Regions from separate parts of the Homo sapiens genome. Here region 1 is linked to region 2. Evidence: promoter capture Hi-C in human tissues and cell types (Jung and others, 2019). All regions are on one chromosome and are shown on one strand. Each heading gives the region's core, a stretch centred on a gene start or on the middle of the fragment in contact. The rest is flanking DNA. Distances are from core to core; before and after follow the strand shown. Region 1 overlaps LINC01508 (long intergenic non-protein coding RNA 1508). Region 2 holds the start of NFIL3 (nuclear factor, interleukin 3 regulated).

Region 1 (7,715 bases), core at 1,915-4,414, 1.1 Mb after region 2:
TCTTATATGGGGGCAATTTGTGGCACTCCAAAGCGATTACAATAGCAACATCAAAGGTGACTGACCACAGATCACCATAACAGATATAATAATAATGAAAAAAGTTTGAAAGTTTGCAAGAATTACCAAAAGGTGACACAGAAACACAAAGCGAGCACATCCTGTTGGAAAAATAGCAATGATAGATTTGTTCAACTCCGGCTTGCCACTAAACTTCAATGTGTAAATACCAAGATATCTGCAAAGTGCAACAAAGTGAAACTCAACAAAATTAAGTATGCCTGTATTACATTTCTCTATATTGTAGACCTAACGATGAAATTATAAACATATTGTTTTATACAACTGCTTTATAAATAAGTTAAGAGAATGGAGGAACAGAAATATGCACTTAAACTGCTTTTCATTATTACATTTATTGGTGCCCTGTGTGTGTGTGTGTATGCATGTGTGAGCACATGTGTGAATTTATGTTACTACCTGGAGTCACTTGCTTTCAGATTGCAGGATTTCCTTTAGGATTTCTTGTAAGGCAGGTCATATAGTTACATATTCCCTAAGTTTTGTTTATCTGAGAATGTTTTTATTTCACAGCGATTTTGGAAACTTACTCTCATTTTCATGTAAGAGTCTCGATTAAAAAGACTTTGTACGTGATGAGTTCCTTATCTTTTTCTGCTTTAAATATTTTTCTTTAAAAAAAAGTTTGAGTGTGAAATCATTACATTTCTCTTACTTGGAGTTTGTTGAGCTTCTTGAATGTGTAGATTCATGTTGTACATCAAATTTCAGAAAATGTTAGCTATTTTTTTAAAATATTTTTACTGCTCCTTTTTCTCTTTCCTTCCTTTCAGGTAATCTCATTAAATGGTCATCTGCTTAAGGGTATCCCACATTTTTCTGAGGCTTTAGTTCTTTTCTTTCGTTCTTTTTATTCTCTGTTCTTTGGATTTTATAGTCTTTATCTATCTATTTTCAAGTTTATTGATTTTTACTTCTGCCAGCTAAACCCTGCTTTTGAGCCACTGTAGTGATTTTTTAAAATTTCAGTTACATTTTTCTATTTTTAAATTTCTATTTTGTTATTTTTTATATTTTCTATCATTGTATTATCTTCTATTTGATGAGACATTATCATTATACTTTTGTTTACTCCTTTGAGAATAATTTCCTTTAATTTTTAAATTATATTTATAATGACTGCTTTGAAATCTTATAGTAAGTCTGTCATTTGGCCCTCTCATGGGAAGTTTCTGTTTCCTGCTTCTTCCTGTATGAGAAAAAATATTTCATATTTTTTGTTGAAAACTGGGAATTTTAGGTAATTCACTGTAGCAACTTTGGATATTTATCATACCACATCTTCTAGGACTTGCTCTTGATGGCTTCTGCTTGTGTATTGTTTAGCAACTTGGTGGAATTATTTTAGTGATGTCTACTGATCTCATTATGTGGAGAATCTGATGTCACTTCTCCAAGAGCACACACAACCGTGGACATGAACGCAGCTGCCCTAGGATGGCAGTCTATGGATGTGGGCTCTTTCTGAATAGCGCTTTCCTTTGTCCCTCTGTCAAGCTGTCTGCCTCTACTGGTTTTGAGCCCAGGTTTACTAATTATCAAGTGATTACTCTTTTTTTTTTTGACAATTCCCTGGAACATAATTTTCTCTATAGCCTGAGTCAATTAAATATTGTCTCTTTTTAGGGATAGTTTTTGAGACCAGTCTTTGAGGTTTGTTCTCAAAGGACAGTAAGGAAAGCTGTGTCATTCTCTGGTTCTCCCTAGTAAATTAACGAGCTTATAGTTTAGCCCATTGCTCTCCTGGAGAGAACAGCCTCCTCTTCATTGCTTGACAACAAAATCACCTTTGGTTTTAAGAGAACACTTAGGCATGAATTTCTCCATATTCTTTTCTAAATAATGTTAGTCTCTTTGTGGAAAGCTTTGGAACTCTGTTCTGTGACCTGCCTCTCCACTTGGGCTAAGTTTCGGAGCCCCTGCTCAGGGATTGAGCCACTTTTCTCAGAGTGGCCACTGCTTTGAGTTGTGTGCTGGACTGTGGTGACAGCCTCTGGTCCTCTTGGATTAACTCTACCAGCAAGAAATGTTTGCTCTGTGACTGAAATGTGCCAAGGATGATCAGGGCCCTAATATTCTTGGCCTGTCATGCTCTTGGCAGAACCTTCACACTCTGGTCTAGGAGTAAGAGGGAAGCCCCAACCCTCTCAGTCATGCTTGCTTGAAATTTAGCCTCTACAGCACAGAGCTGGCGGGGGATGAGTGATGCTGTCAGACTCCCTGTCCAAGGAGGAGACCGCAGCCCTCAACTTGGAGCCTGCAGAAGAGGGAGCCCCATCTCCTTGGCCACGCCGACTTGTGGTGGAATTTCCATTATGCTAAGTTGGAAGATGAATGAGGCAAGAGGTGGGCAAGTCTCAGGAACCACAGGAATCTGCTGTTTCTACTTAAGATTTGGTAGATTTTATTGAATAAATGTGTATTTTCACTTGGTGTTGATCTGAGAACAATTTCCAGAGATTCGAAATAGTTAAAAAACATGTTTTCATTGGTGATAGTTGATTTGATTGGAAGAGCGTTCATGCAGTTCCTCATGCTGTCATTCTAAGTCTTGTTCTGTAAATAAGCATTTTAAAACTGCAAAGAAGAGAGAGAGAGAAAAATCAATAGTTTGACATTTATTTGCTTGTAGCTACAGTTGATTTACTTAGTTGTCTTTATCCCCTTGATCTCTAAAATTCTTCAACAAAAGGCTCTTTTATACCTGAGTACTAAATATAATTAAGAAATTATTGTAATTTATGCTTGGCTTAATAAGCACTTACTAAATGAGAAGCTATCCTCTTAGACAATGCAAATCCACACATGAGTGTAGGTGAAGAGTGACAGGTACATTCTGTAAACAGTGGGAGTGAATAATTTAGCCAGAATCTGCATACTTTGTGGGAACCTGAAGCTGGCAGTTCTTTTTAAGAAATATCAGGCTAAGAATTCTAGAAGAGATAAGCAGAGTTATTAAGAACCTTGTAACAGTTGAAGCTGTGCCACACACATATTTGCATTTCAATGATGTCAGCCCCTGGCTCACATTCCTATTTCATATTCACCTGCCTACATTCTTTTAATACTCTCATATTTTAGTCAAAATCCACTGTGGTCTTTGATTTGGAATTTTTCTTTAGAAATATCTTAATATAAAATACAGACAATATTATAATAATCATCCTTATACCTCCACCCAGAATAATTTGTTTTAGATCTTCATTTTTAAAAAGGGATATTAGCTTATGTATACTTTAAGATGCCTTTGTTTTTGTCTCCACTTCAATTTCCCTCTTCAGAAAAAAGATCAATATCATAAATTTGATATGTGTTCTTTCTATATATACCTCTACATACATACATATGCACAAGTAAGCATGTGCATACACACACATGCATGCACACACACATAGAGGTTTGCTTCAATGTTACCTGTTTATAAATGTGCTTACCAAATTTCTGTCAACAGTCTAATGCCTTCATTTCTTTCTCAGTGAATGAAAATTTAAAGTTAATGCCTGGAATTTGGCATGTGTGACAGGGATATGGTAATTCCACTACTGTGAGCAGAGAAAGTAACAGGCAGACATATTTAGAAGGAAGATATTAAGCCTGGGTTTTTGTGTTTAAAGTGCTTCTGAGGCATTCAGCAGGTTATCTCTGAACATATGCACACATGTAAATCTGGGAAAAGAGCTCTGTCTAAAAAAATCTCAATTTTGGAGACAAAAAATAAGTAATTATGAAAATAATTAGTGTGAAGGAAAACACATATGGGTGAAAACTTTTCTAAACCTCAGAAATGCTTGTACCAAACACCTCTAGCAAATGAAGTATTAATCATAAATCATTTAAAATACTCTATTAGAAAATCAAAATGAACAAGTGAGGTATGGTCTCTATCCCAGCTAATGGTCAACATACACCCCACTGAAGAAGGTAACCATGACAGTAAGACAAGAAATGCCAGCAGAAGAGTAAATATTGCGCGAAAGAGACAATAGCACTATCATTATTCATAGATAATGCAACATTCTATGAGAATAACCACCAAAAAACGAAAAAGTGTTAATCAATAGGATAATTAGTAATCCCAGCTTCTTGGGAGGCTTAGGCAGGAGAATCGCTTGAACCCAGGAAGCGGAGGTTGCAGTGAGCTGAGATCGTGCCACTGCACTCCAGCCTGGGTGACAGAGCAAGACTCCGTCTCAAAAAAAAAAAAAAAAAAAAAAAGAAAAAAAGAAATATGCAACATCCCAGTTTCTTGTAACTCAAGAGCAACACGTTTGAAAATTGACAATGTGACAAATGAACCATATTTAAAATAGAACAAAATGTCTAAAGTACCTAGAAATATGCTTAACCATAAATTTTAAAAATTGTAGGGAGCAAATTATGAAATTACACGGAAAGACAGAAAATATGATTTAAATAAATCTAGAGGCATAAGCATACCCTTGTTTTGGGAGGTGACAGTTCTCCTCAAATTGTCTTACTAAGTCAATTAAGTATAATTCCAATAAAAGTCCCAACAGATTTTATTCATGGATCTTAGAAAACTTTTCAGAAAATTAACAAAGTAAGGAAATGTACACACTTTTATTTAAAACAATTTTATAAAAGTAATCAAGAAGGCAAGTATATTTGCTTTTTTAGATAGCAAAATGTACTGAAAACAATTGTAAGTAGACCAGTGTGGGTATTGGTGACAACACTTTACAAATAGAGAACAGAGTAGCTGGGACTACAGGCGCCCGCCACCACGCCTGGCTAGTTTTTTGTATTTTTAGTAGAGATGGGGTTTCACTGTGTTAGCCAGGATGGTCTCGATCTCCTGACCTCGTGATCTGCCCGCCTTGGCCTCCCAAAGTGCTGGGATTACAGGCGTGAGCCACCGCGCCTGGCTACAAATTCTTAAAAGGAAAATTGTTCTTGCTTTGATAACAGTGTGTGGAAATGCCTTTTCCAATTAGCAATGCTTTCGGGAACAACAAACAACACATGATTAGGAAGCTTACTGACAGAACATTTCTTTGTTTTTGAATCAATATGTTTTTTGCACTTTCTCATGTAATGCAAGTGTAGTACACCTCTCTTTATTTTCTTTTTTTAAAAAAAAGAAAAATATGGTTTTTTTAATTAGAAAGATTACCTTCAAATGTTACCATTTTAACACAATATTTGTCCCCACATTCTTCATTCTTTTATCTATACGGATGTTTTTCTAGATACTTGAAAGGAAAATAATTGGGAATGTAGAAACAATGCAAACAGTCTGCGGATAATGACCCACAGAGAATATTAATAAACTAGATAGCATCATGAAATGTAATTTCCAGCAATAATATGATGATCATGTAAACTATAAAAATAATATCATGTTCTAAAATGGTATGATAAATTTTGAGTAGAAAAGCATAAATAGGATAGCAATAAAGTGGATATCATGACATCTTATTGGGAATATGAAAATTATTCTATTGCTTAACTTAATTGCATTTTGGTGGTGTGCCAGGAAAAGCTGAGTTTCTGTAAACATGCCTGGGCTAATATGAGTTCAGGCTGCTTTCACTGCATTCAGCACTGTAGCATAAGGGCACTAGATAGCCTTGCCCCCACAGGCGTTGAAGGAGGCTTGTCTATCTGTCTGTTACAACATCTCTTTCATCTATAGACACATGGTCTTCGTAAATTTTCCCCAGGAGAGTTCAGTATTAATGCACTTGGGCCACTCTATTTCCACAAGGTCATGTAAATTATTTAAAAAAGAAAAAGGTGGGAACGGGATGGTCTTGGGCAGCTGATTAGCATCTTATGCATAATGAAGAATTTTGCATGTTTGCGGCCAGGCACAGTGGCTCACACCTGTAATCTCAGCACTTTGGGAGGCCGAAGTGGGTGGATTATGAGGTCAGGAGTTCAAGACCAGCCTGGCCAAGATGGTGATACCCTGTCTCTACTAAATATACAAAAATTAGCCAGGCGTGGTGGCAGGCACCTGTAATCCCAGCTACTCAGGAGGCTAAGGCAGAGAATTGCTTGAATCTGGGAGGCAGAGGTTGCAGTAAGCCAAGATTGCGCCACTGCATTCCAGCCTGGGCGACAGAGCGAGACTCTGTCTCAAGAAAAAAAAAAAATTGATTAAATAGGATACTGAGTATCTTAATATAATGTCCAAAATGTGAAATATATAATACAACAAACACTCATAATACCAAGAACTAGGAAAATCAGAACATGATCAAGAAAAGACAGCCTTACAAAAACAACACTGATATGAATTAGAAGCTGAAATTATCTGAAAATGATTTTAAAGCCACCATTATAAAAATGATTTCATAAGCAAATATGACTTCTGAAACAATTTGAAAAGTAGGAAATTTCAGCAAAGAAATAAAAACTAAAGAGAAGATCCAGTTGGAAAGTATAGAACTGAAAAATTCAATCACCAAAACAAAATAACCAAACAAAAGCTCACTGAATAATTTTAATATAAGGTGGAGAGATGACAGAAGATAGAATCAGTGAACATGAGAACAGATGAATAGAATTTGCCCAATTTAAACAATAGAAAAAAAACTGAAAAAAATTATAAAGTATCAAGTACCTGAAGTACTATAATGAAAAAGCTAACCTTTGTATTATCAGAGACCCAGAAGGAGAGAAAAAAGAATGAGATTGAAAAACTTCATCCTAAAAAGTAATGGCTATAATTTCCCCAAATTTGAAGACATAAAGTAGTAGATTCAAGAGGCAAATACACCACAATGGATATACCCAAAGAATCACATAAAAAGACATCATCAAGATGCTGAAAATTAAAGGCAAAAAGAAAATCTTAGAAGTAATCAGAGAAGTAACATATTACCTATATGGGTATGCCAATTCAAATGTCAGTAAACTCATTTGAAATTTGGATGCCAGAAGAAAATGGCACATTTTTCAAGTCCTGAAGGACAGGGAGTGTCAACTGTGAATTCTATATCTGGTTAAAGTATACTTACTTCAGGAATAAAATAAAAATAAACACATTGTCAGATGAAAAAAACTAAGAGAGGTTGTTGCTGGCCAACCTACCTGTAAAGAATGGCTAGAAAAAAAATCATAACAGAATAAATCATATAACTTCAGAAAGAAAATAATAAAATTAGCATGTATAAAAATAGAAATAAATATACAAGAATGTGTGTGAGTTTTTAAATCATATTTTATGGTTGAAGTAAAAGTTATAATGTCAACTAATGTGATTCTCAGTGACCGTAGATGAAATACTTAAGATAATTACATTTAAACATTGTACAGAGTAGAGGGACTTAAATGGAAGTAAGCTTTCTATGCCTCGCTCAAAGTCTAAAATGTTCATACCTGTCTCTCTCTCTGTGTCTGTGTGTCTTTGTGTGTGGTGTGTATATACATAGATATAAATATAGGGTGATAATTAATAATCTCTACAAGAACTCTCCAAAGAGATATACATAAAATCATTATAAATAAATGAAGATTGAATCAATTAAAATGTTTAAATAAACAACAGAAAGGCAAGAAAAGAGAAAGATAGAGGCTACCAACAGAAAACAAATAAAATGGCCAACTAAAACCATCAATAATTACTCTTTGTGTGTGTGTATTAGTCTGTTCTCACAATGCTATAA
Region 2 (6,988 bases), core at 3,816-6,315:
ATGTCCCTTATTTTGGCACTCTTACTCACATATACCATTTAATCTGAATGAATAAAAATGCTTACTGAAATGTGTGCCATCTGTGGTGGCTGAATTTAAAGACATGTTTCAGTTTTTGTAATAGTGTACTTGCAACATTTTCTCTTCTTTGCAAAATCACCTCTTTCTGGTCTTTTCCTGGGTCCTTTGGAAATGCTTTCAAATGTATTCAGACCATCAGCTGATTTTGTCTGGGGAAATCATGTCGTTGGTGTAGAGATCTAATTTCTTTCTTAGCTTGAGCAAGAGCTGCTTAATAGGAAACATTTTGGCTTCCCATACTTTAAAGCCATCGCTTCTACAGGGAATGTTATGTGACCATCTTCTATTACCCAATTTCCCACAAAAGCTAGTTTTTGAAAAAGAAGGCCAAGCATGCTAATAGAACTCCTGCTAATGGAGCCACATGGCAAAGTTAGGGGACCGAGAGGCAGAGGCTGGAAGACAGTTGAAATCTTAAAAACTATAACGTCTAGGTTGTGGCTGGGATAGGTAGGTGGCAAGAGCAAAGAGAAAAGTGGATGTTTGGGGGAATGAAGGAATCCCAGGAAGTAATGATCTGAATGACTGGAGAAAGGCCAAAGGAAAAAACTAAGAATAATAGAGTAAATCAAGATAACTAAATTTAAAAAGAAAAAAGGTCAACAAAGGTAGAAAAACTACAAGAAAAGGCAAAGCGGAAGAGGAAGACAGAGGTGAAAGATTAAAAATGGCATGAATAGCAGAAATAAAAGTGCATGAGTGGTGGAAAGAAATATCATTCCAGGAAGTTTCTGCCTCAACAGTCAATGACTCATTGCATCAAAGCCAAAATCCCAGCAAAAAGCACACACTGATGGGCGTGGGGAGGAGAACCTCACTAAGGCTACCATGCTAGCTCACATCTTAAAGCCTCCACTTGAAAACAAAACAGGTCTGGTGCTGTGACTCACACCTGTAATTCCAGCACTTTGGGAGGCCAAGGTGGGAGGATTGCTTGAGCCCAGGAGTTTGAGACCAGCCTGGGCAACATAGAGAGACACTGACTCTAACAAAAAAAAAATTAAAAAATTAGCCAGGCATGGTAGTGTGCACCTGTAATCCCAGCTACTTGGAAGGCTGAGGTTGGAGGTTTGCTTGAGCCTGGGGGGGTCAAGGCTGCAGTGAGCCGTGATCACTCCACTGCCCTCCAGTGTGGGCAAGAGAGCAAGACCCTGTCTCAAAAACAAAAACAACAACAACAACAACAACAACAACAAAAACGGTATGCTATGGATTCCCAGAAACTGAACTTCTGTTCCTGGAGTTTAATAAAAAGACACAAGGTGGTCCATAAACATACTACAGTGGAAAGAAAATGGTCCTGGCACACAGGAGCCCTGATGCAGGCTGCCGGCCACCAGACCAGACAGGAGGTCACCAAAGGGCTTTTAGTTATCGAAGTTTTTTCTACAAAGAAATCCATAAGTCCAATGCACAAAACAGATAGGGTAGAGCTGCCCAATTTGGTTGCCAGGTAGGCAGCCTGCTTTTTAGCCACTGAGTCCCCCGTCTCCACCCCCTGTTCCCAGGACATCTCTGTAGAACTCAGAGGACTCAGACTGTCCAGCCTCTGGGTAGGTAAGTCCTGCAGTCTTTTATTTTTTAATGAATTGCTTGCCTAAACTGAAAATCAGGATATTTTACCAAAAAAAAGAAAGTCAACTTTCTTTTGAATAATTGGAGCTGTGGGCTGTGCAGTCTTTTATTTTTTAATGAATTGCTTGCCTAACCTGAAAATCAGGATATTTTACCAAAAAAAAAAAAGTCAACGTTCTTTTGAGTAATTGGAGCTGTGGGCTCCTGGAAACAGCAATTGATGAGAGAGCTGAAAAACAGTCTTCTTCAGTGGGTCACTTTCTTTTTGCCACAGTCCACGTGTGGCTAACGTCCTGAATTCTCATTATCCATCTGACTTTACAGTTACTCCGGCCTAGTGAGGTCCACTGTAAAATCCCTGGGATATATATATGGCCTCTTGGGGATGTTCCAGCTCAAGACATTCTGCAGCTGTAGAAAAATTATTACTATATTAAATTAAGTTGTTACTAAATTACAAATTCCTATTAATTCCCATTTTAGTAAGGAGAAGTCACTGTTTTAGTCATTCTGTTCTCAAGCTATAGCTCTTATATTTGCTTAGTCAGAAACCATGTTGGCAGTATAATAAAATGAATTAGAATGTGGTTGATTGTCTTCTGCTGGTAGTTCTCATCCCTGTCCAGGCACCTCCTCCCTTGCCCCTGCCCTCAATCCACCCCTAGCACTGAGAGGTTGCTGAGAGCAAGAACCCCTTCCTCCTCCTCCTGAGAACCTTACAGCCCAGCTCCACCATCAGGCACATGCTGATGTCTTCCTAGAAGCCTCCCCACCCTGGTTAATTTGTTTCAAATATCTTAGGTTTTTATGCTCCATTTACTCGAGTTAATCTGCAAATACTTACCTACTCTGTGAATGTTCTAGGATATAATATTAGATACATCATCACTTCGGCCCTGGGGACAGATCCTTCATCCTGTTGTTTAGTGGTGTCCTAATCACCAGGAGGAGCTAAAGAGTTGTTTTCTAAGCTGGTATCTCAGATACCTTTCACACTTCCTCTGATTTCCAAGTTAGATGGTAACAATGAATGATGCACAGATATAATACATACACAATCTAAAATACTCCAAGTAAATATAGGAGCATTCGATTTCAAAATTCAGCATAAAGAATAAGTTTCCAGGTTGAGAGAACTCCTCCAGCATCACTGCCTGGGGTGGCTCCAGGCACGTTCTTTACCTGTCTTGAAGGTCGAGTTGTCTTTAAAGAAAGACATTTACTACAACGGCTTTGAAATTCCATGAAATTATTCAAAATGCAGAACAAGGTCAGAACACGTGAAGGGGAGGGTAGATTATGCAGGACAGCCCTGGATTTCTAGACAATAGCTGCATTTCTGACCCCAAAAAGGCAACTAATATGGATATGATTTTGATTTCATCTAAGAGAGGTTCTCAAAGCTACAAATAAGCATTGTAAGGTTTGGGCAAAAAGGAAACTATCAGTAAATTTGAGAAAAGTGGCCAGGCACAGTGGCATGCGCCTGTAATTCCACTACCAGGGAGGCTGTGGCCGGAGGATCCTTTGAGCCCAGGAGTTCCAGGCCAACCTGGACAACATAGTAAGACCACATCTTGAATTATTATATATGTATGAGAAAAGTGGAAATTATAAACTAAAATCAGGATTTGTTCTCATGAAGGTAGTCAAGTTTGGAAAATGTGTAGTGGAGGGGATGTGGTTCTTGCATTAGTCAGCACCGGGAAGATGGTGTCGGGGAACACGCTAAGCCCATATTGTACGTCTGAGTTTTCAGAGCCTTGTCAGCAGAGCTGTACTACCAGATAAATCACGAACAAGAGTGCGTTCAAAACCACAACGCTGCCCTGGAAGGCTTTCCAAAAACTCAACTGATAGGTGATAAAAATTTTTTAAATATGACTTGCGTTATTATGATATTAACTGTGCAAGAAGGGGAAAGGTAGAAAAGACAATCTTGGCGAGTAGATAGATCTGCTGCTCATGGCAGACACTAGGGATGGTACCTGGGTGTTCACTCTGCTCTTCTCTTTACTTTGGTTTTTGCTTTTTAAAAACGAAAGGAGCAAAAAGAAGTGGAAAGTCGTGGAGGCACTCGGCCCAGCCCCCACGTAGTTCAAGGAGACCAGGAGGGAGCTGGCTGGTGGAGGTCCTGCCCACCTGCCACACTCCGTATTTGGGCAAGCCTGTGAGTCACTGTCGGGAACATGGCTCCCTTCGCCAAGGCCAGCACTGACCACTATCCGTGTATCGGTAAACGCAGGGAGTGTGCCACGTGCCTTGACAGTCTAGCGCGACGACTTAAGAAGTCGCGGCTAGGTGCTCTTTTTTCCATTTTTTTACGTCTCTTCCGTAGCCCGGGAATTTGGGAGAGAAGACTACCGTATCCAGTTAGACGCAGAAATAACACTAAGCAGCTATCAGCTCAAAATCACAGGAAGAGATCCCGCGCGGTCGTCTCAAGCCCCAGCACCAAACGACAGTGGGCGTCCCAGCGGGGGCACCCGAGCGCGGACCTTCACATCCTCCGAGGAACGCCGCACCCGCGTGGCGGGGGTGGGTAGATGGACCTCAGCGAGCCTCGTTTCCCAGTCGTGTTACGCAACAACTTTGCAGCCGTCATCTTCGCCCTAATTGTGCAGGGGGCGGTGTTTGTGCGTGGAGCTTTCCCTCCCGGCTCCGGGCCGTCGCGGCTCTCGGGAGAGGCGCCGGGACATTTTAATCGCTGCCTCCGCCGCGCAGCCCTGCGCAGCTGCCCGGCCGCGCCAACCCCTTCCCCGCCGCAGCGCGCCCCGAGTGTTGGCAGCTTGCCAGCCGCCACCCCCCGCCTTCCCTCCTGCCCACCCCAAGGTAGAGGGCTCCTCTCGGGAGTGTGCGGGGAAGGGGAGGCCGAGGTCCGGGCCACGCCCGGGTAGCCGCAACCCGCAGTGCTCAGTCGGCAACAGGTAGCCCAGCAGGCTGCGGCTCTCAGGAAGACAAAAAGCGCCTCTGCGAGCAAGTGAGGGTCGCGGGGAGCGCAGAGCCACCGCGGCGACCGGGAGGGTGAAGGGAGCCAAGAGCGGACGGGGCGGTGGGACGGGGGGCTCCCGGGCTCCTCCGCAGGCTCGCTCCGGTCGTGTCGGCCGCGTGGGCCGTTGCGCAACACTCGTTGCGCCGGGAATGGGGCGCCAGCCCTCGCGGGCGCTCGGACGGCGGTGGCCCTGGCCGGGGAGGGACGCGAGCTGGTAGTGGCGCCGCCGCGGAGGGGGAGCTGAGGGCGGGGAGGCGGGGCGGGGCCGCGGAGTGCCCGCCCCGGCCCGCCCCTGCCGGCCGCGGCCATTGGCGGCGGGCCGGGGGCGGGTGCGGGCGCGGCGATTGGGGCCGCGGCCGCCAGTCACGCGGGGCTGGCGGGCGGCGACGTAGCGCGGCGCTCGGAACTGACCTACTAACACACATCTCTCCGCGCGGCCACGGCGCCCGCGGACCCGGCGCGCCCGCCCGCCTCCCGCGCCGCGCCCTCGCCGCCGCCCGCCTCCCGCCGCGGCCCCGGAGGCCCGGCCCGGCCCGAGCCCCGAGCGCCGGCGGCCCGACTCCCGGCCGCCCCTTTCTTTCTCCTCGCCGGCCCGAGAGCAGGAACACGGTAAGCGCTCCGCCCACCGCCGGCCGGGGGCCCGGCGACCGCTCCCAGGGCGCGCTGCGGGCGGGCGGGCGGGCGCGGGGTGCGGGCCGCGCTGTGTGCGGGGTCGGGCTGTAAGCTGGGCTCGCCAGCGGCGGCGAGTGCGCGCGGGGCATTCATTACATAAACTTTTGCTGCCTTGTCAGGATGGGACTCGCCACCTTAAGGTGGCTGCTTTGATTGCAGCGCCTTCGCGCCGGCACGTAGTCCTGGCTGGTTTGCGCTCTCCCCCCGCTGCTGTTGCATAATGTCTCCTGATTTCAGGAAAATTGATGTTTTGGTAAAGAAGAGCGCCAGGCAGGCTGAGCCCTCTCCGAGCGGGAAGATGCTCTTTCCTCTCTAGTGTCTTTCTTTCTCGTTCCTTCTCTGGGGCTGGCGGCGTAGGGGGGAGAGGAATGGGGGGTTGAGGAATGGGGAATAGTCTTAATTTGCTTGGTGAGAAAAAGGGTTGGTAGCGTGAACGGTGACGGCATTCGGAGAATGCCTGCGCGGCGTTTGTTTGTGTCAGGGGCTGTGTCTGCACAGACGTTTTCCACCCTGTTTGTCGTCAGCGTGTTTTACAAGCCCTCGGGAAGGTTGTGGGATTTGTCCTTTCATACATTGCATAATCTGCCCACGGTGAAATGTTGGCAAGAATTGCGGGCTGATGTGGGAATATGCGCGTATGTGTGCAATGATTTGGTAATTGAGGCGCAGCGTTGGATATTAGATCGTTATTTACGTCTATATTACGTCCCAAATAAACAGGTTTTAAAACGATACTACAAAACCTAAAAGCAAGAATTGCTCGCATTGAATTCTGATCTTGGGTACTACTGGGGTTCGCCCTTTCAATGTTCTCAGCTGTTATTTTTAAATCTGGGACGAACCATTGTGACGTTTACCTCCCCACCTTCCTAATTTTAATGCATTCCATTCGATCAGCCCTTTTTCTCACCTTATTGTCATTGCTTTTTCAGACACGACAAGACAAATCACATAATAGTTTCCTGGAAATGTTGCATTATGTAACTGCCGAATTTGCTGGCAGTGAGCATAGAGAGAGGGAGCTAATTACGTGATTTTATAATCTTGCTACAAAGAAAGTAGGACAGTCTCAGCCTTTAAGAATGTCACTATAACAGTTTTTTTTTTTTCCTTAAGGATATTTTAAACAGGAAAGTAGACAACCGGGTAAGCATGGAGTTTGCTCATGCTGCCGAATGTGTGTCTTTTGCCCTAAATGAAACGCACGTTCTTCTAAATTTAGCCCTATCACATTTTAACAATTGTGGCCTCGCAGTGCTATTTCTGGTGTTTTCTCCAGGGCTGTGTGCAAATACAAGTTCAAGGCCATTTGCTGTAGTTTTAACTCCACGCCTTCGGAGACCTTTGATAAGATTGTATTTTTAGGAAGGCATTTCGCAGCGCCCGGTGATTTGCTGGATGCTGGCTCCCATTTATGTTTTTAAAGGACACTTTAGGAAACTGCTGTTCTCTGAGAACAGCAGGGAATGGCCAAGTGTCATCTTCTGTTCTTGGCTTTTGTAAATAACAACAGTAAGTGAGGTCAGAAGTATTTATTTACCCCCAGACCAGATATGACCTATGGGAAACAGATATAGGTTAGTAGATTGTTTTTTTGTCTGGATACCCTGGTTTTACTTATGTGAAGATGTGTGAATATGTAATTTACCCAAATATTAAATTTCTTCC

Evidence for each region. Contacts are between HindIII fragments. The study calls those that stand out against the background at their distance.
Region 1: a fragment that was not itself captured here is called in contact with the fragment with the promoter of NFIL3 in region 2 in 1 of the 25 tissues and cell types used here (dorsolateral prefrontal cortex).

What each region holds. Positions count from the first base shown.
Region 1 is chr9:90,363,756-90,371,470 of GRCh38, reverse strand. All of the region lies in intron 2 of LINC01508 (long intergenic non-protein coding RNA 1508), which reads left to right. Among named protein-coding and RNA genes, the nearest start is that of LINC01508, 66 kb to the left of the region's middle. The HindIII fragment of the contact is 6,140 bases long and covers 95-6,234 here.
Region 2 is chr9:91,421,909-91,428,896 of GRCh38, reverse strand. NFIL3 (nuclear factor, interleukin 3 regulated) reads left to right here and starts at 5,065. Exons shown (of 2, transcript NM_005384.3): 1 at 5,065-5,257. It overlaps LOC105376146 (synapsin-1), which reads right to left and starts at 4,864. Exons shown (of 2, transcript NR_188612.1): 1 at 2,501-4,864; 2 at 1,287-2,067. LOC124902209 (a long non-coding RNA gene) reads right to left here. Exons shown (of 2, transcript XR_007061661.1): 2 at 6,838-6,878. RefSeq lists silencers at 2,221-2,417, 4,728-5,127. The HindIII fragment of the contact is 26,857 bases long and covers 1-6,988 here.